Regions from separate parts of the Homo sapiens genome. Here region 1 is linked to region 2. Evidence: promoter capture Hi-C in 16 types of primary human blood cells and fetal thymus (Javierre and others, 2016). All regions are on one chromosome and are shown on one strand. Each heading gives the region's core, a stretch centred on a gene start or on the middle of the fragment in contact. The rest is flanking DNA. Distances are from core to core; before and after follow the strand shown.

Region 1 (5,262 bases), core at 2,596-5,095, 650 kb before region 2:
GTTTTGGGAGCGGCCAGCGTGGTGCAGGGCTGTATGGGAATGGAGGTGGCAGGCGTTTGCCAACCCTGGGGAGTACACCGACGGTACTTCCTCTCCCACTGCCGAGTGCTCCACTTGACCGTGACTTTCGGCACACCTGTTGCCTGAGAAAGTGTGCTTTATCCCCGTGTGCTGGGAATCTCTGGCTGTAATCTAACCTGAGATGAGTAAGTCAGTTTCTTAGACAGGGCGCTTCTTAAAACAGCAAGGCCTCTCAGTTGATCACCACTCAGCTCCCCTGAAGCTGTAGAACTGGTGCCTGTCTTTTGTCCATGCTTATTTTTTTTCGCTGGTAAACTTTGGCCCCTCTTTTGGTTGTTATTAAACTAGTATTTGTTTGGTGCACATAATCTCTGCTGGACCAGGTTAAAACAAGTGCAGATTGTTAAGGGAAGAGGGCTCTGGTCAGCGCGGAGTGTGCATACACTCGGATCAAGGAAAGGAATGCCAGAGCCAGCCCAGCATCAAAATACACTGCAAGTTGGTGGTGAGCTTTTGTTATTTTGCGTATGGTTAACCATCTCGGAGGTCATAAAGCGAGGCCTCTGTCCTCCGGTGCAGCAGCTGGGTTTATACAGTATTTCCAGATTGTTTATTCTGGCCCAGAGCCAGGGCTACATCGTTTTTCCATTATGCATGTTTGACAGATGAAGAGAGGTGGGAAGTGGGACTCCCAGGAACAGGTCTGTGATTTCCTTTCTATTTACATTAAAGGGACTTTTAGGAGTACTGAAGATTATGAACCAGTTCAAACATATGTCAATGCAGCAGAGGTAGAGAAGCTGCTATGTTTGCAAAAAATGTTCAGATCTTGGGCAGTAAAACAAAATCAAAGCAAAATCTTGGGCAGTGAGCACATCGTGCTTGTCACTGCCCAGTCTTGCATGCAGACAGGTTACTGGCGAGTGATATTTATCATTCACATCCAGAAGTTAAGCTAGTGTTTGTTTGGCAGGGCATTGGGAGGAGCCCCTGAGTTGGCAAACCAGAATCTGTGTGCAATCCACTGACATATGCATTTCATGCAGATGGGTGTGCCTGGTGCCGGGCAGAGATGTGTTTCCAAGGTCCCAGTAGAACTTTTTCCCTGCAGCCTTTTCCCTGAGCCACCAGCTTTCTGTGGATACTCCCAAAAGCCCGGGCTAAGTTCTTCCACCAGGAAGTGTTCAAGACTGACCAAAGAGCCACAGTTCACATTGTATCCACAGCAAAGTCCTTGGCACATAGGTCAAATGGATGTGATTGAATGACTGTTTTCCTTCTAAATAAAACACTTTCATTTTGCTAATGGAGAAACATCACTAAAAAGTACCAAAAGTGATGGCAAATTAAGTAACTGACCAGCATTCATACAGCAAAGTCAGGTCACACAAATAAATGTCTTTTTACCCAACAGTGTTTGAATCTTCAGTTAATGGCTGGGGTAAATATCACACCCAGCACAAATTCATTAGCTGCAAGACGGTGGCTTCTACATAGCTATTTGTGTTTGTGGTGAACCTTCCTTATCATGGCATGTCTTAAGCTTGGCTAAGTATTTGCAAGCGTTCTGTCACCATAACATAATGTTCTTCAACAGAGTGGCTAAGAAAAGCAAATACCACTACCTCTCCAGAACAACCTGTGATCCAAACCTTCTCTGTCAGCCTACTATCCAGAAATTCAATTTCCAGAAATGGAAAGTTTGCTCAGGAAGGACCCTCAACTAAGGAAGGAATTTAGCTAAAAAGTGAAGTATGCATAGTCAACACTGAAAGTTGCCCTTTGGGTTAATCCAGTCTTGCAGATGGATTTAAAATACAGGTTTCAAATCAACAAACATTTATGGAGGGTGGTTAGGTGCCAGGCATGGAGCTGGACACTGGGGAACTAAAAATGAAAAAGACACAGTCCCTTTCAGTGTGAAAACATTTTTGCTGGCTTGCAAGTTTTTCACCAGATCCTCCCAGACTTACCAAAGCATTCCCCTCATCTTAGAACACTCAAGCCCTTCTTTTCAATGGATTCCCTGAATGCCAGAATACACACAGGGCAAGGAGAAGTGGGTGGTTATAGATTTCCACTCAATTTGGAAATTAACAGCCTGTGGTGTAGCAAAAAGGTGCAAGGCTGAGAATCAGAAAGCCCACTTTCCAGTGCTTGGACTGAAATGTCCTGGCTGTACAGCCTTGAGCTGGTCTTGTGACCTCTGGGGCCCTTGGTATCTGTAAGTAAAATGGGTACTGGGAAGATTGAGCAAGGTAGTGAGGGGCGATGTGAAAGCGCATTAATCCACAGAGCCCTATGAAAATGAGAGGGATGTGCTTCTCTGCAGGACTTGTATGAGAAGTTGCACTGTTCGGGCTACTATTTGTAAAGTTTTAATAATACAGAAAGCAGCCCCCTCCTGGCCTCATGCCAGGTTTTATTCTCTACCAACATTGGGTGGCCAACTACAGATTTTTATGTCACTGGGGGCCAGCTGTTAGAAGAATCTCCACTCAGGACCGTAACTACTCTGTAGTGTCCCTGCCACTCCCTCCCCAGGGACAGCGCAGAGCCTGGAAGTCTATCCCCCTGTGGCCCTGACTCTATGGCTGATTGGACATGTCTATAAAGAAAAAACAATCTCTATTGTGTTCTTTAAATAGAAAGCTCAAAGTTTGTTTTTTTACTTTGTTTTCCCTCTTCTGAACACTTCATAGCTCAAAACCAGTGCCTATTTTGAGGAAATTTTCAATAGTTATCATAAAATTAACTAAGGGAATTATTTGACCAATCCCTAAAGGTAATAAGAAAAAACTTTTTAAAAAAATATCAAAAACATCCTGAAGCCACAGCTTCTTTTTGCCAAAAAGTATTGATGAATTAAAGTAGAGAGGCAGAAAAATGTGCCTTGCCAGCACTATTGGTCCCAAAAGGCAACCAAACCACAAAGTTAAACACTGAAATGTACAGACCCCAGCCAGATGGGAGGGTAGACTGCTTCTCGCTAAGGACCCAGCATTTGTGGGTCTCCTAGGAATTTCTGTGAAACTCCTTCAGATACTGCCTTTGTGCCCAGCTGTCTGTCTCCATCTCACAGACACAGCCAAGCCTTCCTTGAATCTGACAGCACCCTCGTCCTTCTGATGGTTTCTTTTGTTCCCTCAAGAAGCCTGTACAGAGGAGAACTGTGTTTCCCCAGGTGCTGAGCTGTGGAAATACAAAGATAAATGGGGTATCGCTTTTGTCCTGATCACTCAGTATAAAAAGCCTCTTTGGAAGAACAGCTAAATGAAACCTGGTGGAGATGTTAAGAATAAAATCTAGAGAAAATTTTTTAGGAGGTGGATAGTGCCTCAGAGGCCTCCTAAAAGTTTTCCATCTCTTGATTGAAACACACACAGAATCTATACTCTCAGACGTGCACACACAGCACATACGGCAAATCTTCATGATCTTGTAGTAAGTATGAAAGACCCAACTCCATGCAGAGTATTTAAGATAAGCCCAATAAGCCTGGTCTCCCTGGTGAGGATTTCTGACCAAACAGAAGAAATGTTGACTCCAGCAAATGAATCAGAGTGAGATGCCCTCTCTGCCCCCATGGTGACAAGCCTTGTGAGCAGGCATCTCCCTTAGACTGTGAGCTCCATCCACTCGTCAGCAATGTGGAGAGTTAAGAACCTGGGCTCATTAGTCAGACTTCCCCACACCCAACTTCGGGCTTCACCACTTACCAGCTGTGTGAGCCTGCACAAACTTCTAAATTCCAATGCCACAGCTTTAAATGGTGATAATAAGAGACCTCTACAGCACTGGGAGCTTTATAAGGATTAAATGTGTGTTTAGATATCTTACAATTCTTGGCACAGAGAAAGCTCTCAAAGTGCCAACTGATGATGATGATGATGGTGATGATGATGATGCCCCATTCACTGCAACAATTCCTGTGCGTGGTGCAGAATAGCTATTCAACAAATCTTTGCAGAAAGAGGGAAGGAAGATGATATTGGGCACACCAGTGAGGCCTAATTGAAGCCTTGATTTTGACGAGAAGCACTTACTCTCTAGGTTTATGAAAGCCTGAATTTTAGAATCTTTAAAGCAGAAGCATAAAACTCGACTTTCTATAACAGCCAGTCAGGTAACATAAAAGAATGAACCGGCATTTAGAGTCTGAGGCAAACTGGAAAGCCCTGGCCTCTTTCACGGGGGCAGTCACACTTGGCTCCAGAAGAATGTAGCCGCCCTTTGAGAAAAGCCAGAAATCCAGCTTTCCATGTGAAATAGACCAAGCCTTACAACAACTGAATCCATTTCTAAAAAAAAAAAAATACCCCACGGGCCAAACAACACATTGCCTGCCAGTCCGATCTTGGGCTGCCTTTTTGCCACCCTGTCTTAAAGGGAGGAGCTCTGTATTCGTCTCTTTCTTTTAAAATGTTTATCAGTGGGCACAAGAGACATGAGCCCCTTGAAGTTACTCTCAGTTCCTGCTAGGATCAGAGAACGCTCATGGAGTGAGGTCTTCACTTCTTCATGGTTAATCCGACAGTATGTGCTCACCTAACGAGGGCTTCTTCCCTTCCCAAGGAATGCTACTAATAAGTATAGATTTTTAAAGCATAATTGTTTTGTGGCTGAAATAACAACAATTATTTGAAAAAAAATCCTAACAACTTCCTCTAGAGCTGCTATTATGGCAGTCTGGAGAGAGGCTGATTCCATAGTCCATGTAGCTTTGTTTTGTTTGGATGGAAAGTCTGGCATTTTACAAAAATGTGGAAAACTTAGCAATGGAATGACTTTTCCATAGCACCGATTATCGTACAGCAAGACACACATCCATATGTCTTTGAAATGAGATTTTTAAGAATTCTCTGCTTATTATACAAGACAAACCACCTCTGGTCTTTCCATATGAAGGTGATAGTTTTCTACAGGCTCATGAAAGCTGCCCTGGTTATGGTGCAGTACTTAAAGTTAGGGAAAAATCTCAACATAGATGGGGACCCAGATTCAAATTCGTTTTTTCACTTACCAGCCAGCTATGTGACCTTGGGTAAGTTTCTATTTCTCCATCTGCAAAAGAGGGGTCATGATATTCACCTCACAGGGTTATTGAGAATATCAAATAAAATAATGTATATGATGATCCAAACTCATAATGGGTGTTCCCCATCAATATTGGTTGAATCTGAGTCTCTGTTTCTCCTGGCACAAAATAGCACTCCTGTTTCTGACCGCGACATAACCCTC
Region 2 (5,578 bases), core at 2,346-4,845:
CACAGAATTTTCAAAGGTAAGACAGACTCAAAAGTCTGCCAAAACTTTTGGAGTTATCTTCAGAAGAAGCTGTTTAATTTCCAGCAATAGGTAATTCAATTAAGAAGAAGAAAAAAAAACTAAGTAAGCAAAAATGAAAGGCAAGCAAAACCCCAGTATTCTTCAATATACCTTAAAATTATACACACAATCATAAAGACAATATAGGTTAAGATAATTAACTAGCATTATGAAAAGCAGCCTGTTATCATGATGTTGCATTAACTAACCGAAGTAATTCAGAAGGATCCTAGATTCTGAATGTGAATAAGGCTGAGACTCAAACTTTATTGTGACAGACGAAAATGGTATACAATTGAATGAATAAATGTATGCTATTATTAATAAAAGCTTTATGTTTACTTTCTTCCTGCTAAAAAATTGCTACTAAATAGATGGCTTATCTTAGATTTAGTGGTATTTCAGAATTGATAAAGTATGATAGTTCAACCTTATTCCTTTAAATACCGATATTGAATTTCATCATGTAGATGTACTATTTTTTATTTATTTATTTATTATTTCTTTATTTCTTTATTTATTTTTGAGACAGAGTCTCACTGTCGCAGGCTGGAGTGCCGTGGTGCCATCTCAGCTCACTGCAACCTCCGTCTCTCGGGTTCAAGTGATTCTCCTGCCTCAGCCTTACAAGTAGCTGGGACTACAGACCCGCGCTACCACACCGAGCTAATTTTTGTATTTTTAGTAGAGATGGGGTTTCACCATGTTGGCCAGGCTGGTCTCGAACTCCAGACCTCAGGTAATCCGCCCTCCTTGGCCTCCCAAAGTGCTGGTTACAGGCGTGAGCCACTGCGCCCGGCTAGATGTACTATTACTTATAAATCCCTGACTGATGGACATTTAGGTTGTTCCTCATTTTTTTGCTAATGTAAAATAATACTGCAAACTGGTAACTTCAATTATACTGGTAATATTCTTGTTCTGAGTTCAGGTGGTAAGTTCATGGATGTTCATTTTATTATGCCTCATAGTTTAATAAAATGAACATATGTATAATATACATATAGCATATTCCTTGCACATAACGAAATTAGTTAATAAAAAAATTGCTGCAATAAAAATTCTTGTGCACACATTGCTGAGCATTTTTCTTAAAATAAATTCCCAGAAGTGGAATTGCTGGATCAAAGAGAATACATATTTAAAATTCTGATACTTATTGTCAGAATGCCTTCTAGAAAGTTATACTAATTTTATAATCCCCACAACAAGGTATGGTTAATACTGGCATTACTAAATCTCAACAATCTTTGCTGCTATGACATGTGAAAATTCAAATTATTACTAGGCAAAAAGAATTTTTAAAATAATTCTTCAAAGCAAAACTGCTTACCTTTTTAACCCACACTACGATGGGGCCAGATTCGTCTTAATAAACAATTCTGATCATGTCACCTACCTACCCCATAACTTTCAATGACTTTAATCTCATGGTTAAAGTAAGAGCTCTGGAATCAAACTGCCTGGGTATGACAGATCGCCATTTTTTTTTTTTTAAAGTTCAGACCCTCATCAAAAATACAAACATCAACAAACAAGTATCATTGATTAGTTTGTCCAACTTAGGAAAAAAAAAATGATACCATTACATAAGATTTCAAAGTGTTAATTTGGGTTGAATTAAGTTTATCAGAAAGGTACCCTGGCTGGGTGCAGTAGTGCACCTGTAGTCCCAGCTACTTGAGAGGCTGTGGTGGGAGGATTGCTCGAGTCCAGGAGTTGGAATCCAGCGCAGGCAACATAGCGAGTTCCCATCTTTAAAGGAAACTGCATACTGACATTTTCTTCAGTTCACTTTCTAATAATTGTCAGATCAAAAGTGAAAGCAACGCTGTATCTTCATGCTGAAAAATGATTGCTGTTCCTACTTAGCGAAAATGTTATTCAATGACTAAATAACTTTTGTGATGTATAACAATCTCCCATTGATGTAAATAAAACATCTAAAATAACCAAATAACCAGGGTTAGAACAGTTCCAACACTATTTATATAGAACAAGGACTTGCAATAAAAACAAAACAAAAATAAAAACGACCTACACAATGAAAGCCAGATATTATACATTAAAAATGTAGTAGAAGTATTTTTTGGTGAGCAGCAAGGCATATTCCATCAATATTTAGGCATAGAATGTGCCATTCCAAGCATGGACCATGATCTAGTTTCTTGCAGTAGCAGCCAATTGGACTAACACAATGCTACTTCTTTTACTGTTCAATCAAATTCCTCCACTGCCTTAAGGAATCAACTACCCCATTTTACCGTCAGAGATAATAAGCTTTGTTTTCGTAGCACAGAACATTCACTCCAATTATAATGTCCTACCTTTTCTTCCTCATGGAGGAAATTTGATAAAAAATTAAGTTTATCAGAAACTTCTGATAAACTGATAAACTGATAAATTTATTAACCTTCAATAAATAATTCATAAAGTTCAAACAAGTTTCATGATCGCTAACATTCAAATCCATTTCCAAAACTGGAGTTATACAATATTACTTCTGTGCATGAGATTATACTTATTGTTCACTAGATTTATGAATAACTTCTGGAGGATGATACATGTTTTAAAAGCCGTATTAACATATGAGTTGACAAACATTAAATTTTGTTCCCTTAGAAATTGACAGAGAAGTCAGAATGGGGATAAATCAAGTCATCTGAGGCATTCATTGAGCTACAAGCTATTTCAGGTTATAAAAAACACTGTTCCCTTAATTGTCGTTCCTTCATTTGCTGTATTTATATACACACTCCTACTCCATAAAGACCTCTCCATCTCTCCCACCTCTTCCAACTATGAACAGTAACCTAAAATCACACTGAACTAGACGTAAGAGACTCCCAGGATTTCTCTAAGGTATACCCAGGATCAAGGCCCTCTGGGATCCAAAGAACTGTAGCTCTTTTACTGCAATTTTCCTTCAGAACCACCTTTCCCGTTCCTTCCCTCCTGGACACCGCCGACTCGCGTGTTGGGGGTGGGGTGGGAGACACGCCGCCAGAAAGACAGGCTCTACCCAGCCAAACCTGCACCTCCGAGGCCGAAAAGCCTGGGGCTCTTCCTGCAGCACCGGGCGCGGCCAACCCTCGCTTCCCCAGGGCAGGGCTCAGCTCGGGTCAATGCAACCAGCCAAGTCAGGCCCGGAGCGGGCCGGCTCTGCCCGCCAGTCCAAACCTCTGGACCCTCGCCAGCGGGGATGGGCGTGGGCCCCGGCGGCCACCGCCCCGCCAACTCGAGCACTGGAGGAGCGCACCCGCTACGCCAGCCCCGGACCTACCTGGAGGGGAGAGCAGAGCTCCTGGACAGCGGCCACGGGCCTGAGGGCGGACGCTGAGGCGGCCAGAGTCCGTCCCAGCAACCCCAAGTATCCCTGGTGGGGCAGAGCGGGGAGACGAACGGGGGGGCTGCCGCGGGCCAGCGCGGCCCGTCCCAGGGGTCGTGAGGACCTGGCTCTCCCCTTAACACCAGGCCACCGCCGCCGCCGCCGCCATTTTGCCTTCCACTCAGTGTCGCCGCCGCCGCACTCCGCTGCAGGTTTCCCGGATGTGGGCATTTCCCGGCGTCGCTTGCGCGGGGGCCGAGGACTGGGGGCTTTTGCCCGCCCGGCTGCTGCGAGGGAGCGCGCAGCCTGCGGCCTCCGGGCTTCGTTGCGTCGCCCGCAGCTCTGATCGTTCGTGAGCGTCGCCCCACGTCGCTCCCGCCTGCCCCTGCCCATACGACTCGCCCGCGCCCGTGGGTTAAGGCTGTCTCCCGCCCAGCCTACTTGGTTGATTCAATCCTTTTCCCCATTGATCTATTTCTCTGGACCGAGTAGGGATGTGCATTTCACGGAGCTACGTTCTCAGAAGGGAACAACTGAGTTGCTCTGGGAAACCTCCCTGTGGACCTCAGAATTCCAGATTTTTGGCGCTTTGAAATAAAATTTTATTCTTGCTTAGCGTTCTTTCCCCGAACAAGCCGGTGAGCTTCCAGCATCTGTATTTTCTGAATCCGGCAGATAAGAAATGCTTGAGCCAGGACCGATTGATTAGCAGCGGTTTAGAGATCTTATCTGTCAACCGCATCCGTAGAAGGAGATCGTTATTGCCATAATTGGAATACCGGTGACGGTGTGACAAGAGGTTTTACTTCTGGTTAAGCTGAATGTAAAGTGTGGGATGGGATCGTTGGGTTTGATGTATAAGGTACGGTCCACCCTTTGTGAAGATCGCCTTTGCCAGTTTTTCCTCTAGGAAATATACAGTTAGTGTTTTCAAGTACCTTCTTTCGTAATTTTTCTACTACAGAGTACAAAAAAATTAAAGACATCTTTTTCTGACGTTAAAGTAATAACTGGCTACTTACTGTATCTAGAAATCCAAATGTGAAAACCCGTTAAAAGATTATGTTCCGGACGGGCGCGGTGTCTCACGCCTGTAATCCCAGCACTTTGGGAGGCCGAGGCGGGCGGATCACGAGGTCAGGAGATCGAGAACATCCTGCCTAACACGGTGAAACCCCGTCTCTGCTAAAAAATCCAGAAAAATTTGCCCGGCGTGGTGGCGGGCGCCTGTAGTCCTAGCTACTCGGGAGGCTGAGGCAGGAGAATGGCAGGAACCCGGGAGGCGGAGCTTGCATTGAGCCGAGATCGCGCCACCGCACTCCAGCCTGGACGACAGAGCGAGACTCCGTCTCAAAAAAAAAAAAAAAAAAAAAAAGATTATGTTCCAAGAACATTTGGTTGAAAGTCTATTTTCTACAAGCACAGAGTTTGTAGAAGGCAATGTGACCCAAGGTGGGTCACTAAAGAGCCCCAGGGCTTACTTTCTTCAACGTAAGGGTGCCCCATAAAGACCTTTTCAGCCCTAAAATTATATGAATTATAGGAATCTAATATGTCCACAGGTCTGCTTGCCCTATCCAAAAGGATTATGCATCTGGAAGGGCAGACTGCCCCCAGAATCCTGTCACGTCTGTCATCAACCCATGGTACTTAAGCTCCTCAATGCTCTCTAAACCTAAAGGAAAGTATCTCCACAAACTCTAGTCTTTGGGGAAATTCCTAGATAATTCAGGGAGCTGAGTAAATTGCTCTGTGTAGGACTAGGAGGCTTACTCCTGTGAAGTAGGGCGAGAGATAAAAGAGCAGGGAAAGCAGAGGTGGAATGATCAGGAAGAGAACTGACGAGATGCAAAGCATTGGGGACTGTAGGTGCGGAGAGTGATGATGGTTGGGGAAATACTTACTGTGGGTGCTGGATGTGTGGGAATGGTGATACCTGCCATCACATTTGCAGGTTTTTATATTATTGTGATGGAAGATCTTGGTCCAGTTTCAGCCTACTCAATTCTTCAGTGCTTCATGGAAATGGGGCTTGTTTTTAGCAATAGATGTAGAATCCGATTTCATGCTTGTGTGACCTTAGAAAGGAATTAGGGGGCAGTGTACATGGAAGAAGTCTGGAGACCAGTGTGGCCCTGAGAACATAAACCCTTCCAGAAATTCATACGATCTTAGGGGAAGACACCAGAC

Evidence for each region. The method cuts DNA at HindIII sites, captures the fragments that hold promoters and counts their contacts. A CHiCAGO score of 5 or more calls a contact.
Region 1: a fragment that was not itself captured here is called in contact with the fragment with the promoter of LATS1 in region 2 in 2 of 17 cell types (naive CD4 T cells and naive CD8 T cells); the score reaches 8.7 in naive CD4 T cells.

What each region holds. Positions count from the first base shown.
Region 1 is chr6:149,060,570-149,065,831 of GRCh38, forward strand. All of the region lies in intron 7 of UST (uronyl 2-sulfotransferase), which reads left to right. Among named protein-coding and RNA genes, the nearest start is that of UST-AS2, 31 kb to the left of the region's middle. The HindIII fragment of the contact is 4,566 bases long and covers 1,563-5,262 here.
Region 2 is chr6:149,714,506-149,720,083 of GRCh38, forward strand. It overlaps LATS1 (large tumor suppressor kinase 1), which reads right to left and starts at 3,596. Exons shown (of 8, transcript NM_004690.4): 1 at 3,344-3,596. It overlaps LOC645967 (a long non-coding RNA gene), which reads left to right and starts at 3,116. Exons shown (of 1, transcript NR_134652.1): 1 at 3,116-4,391. RefSeq lists a silencer at 3,086-3,475. The HindIII fragment of the contact is 4,826 bases long and covers 2,339-5,578 here.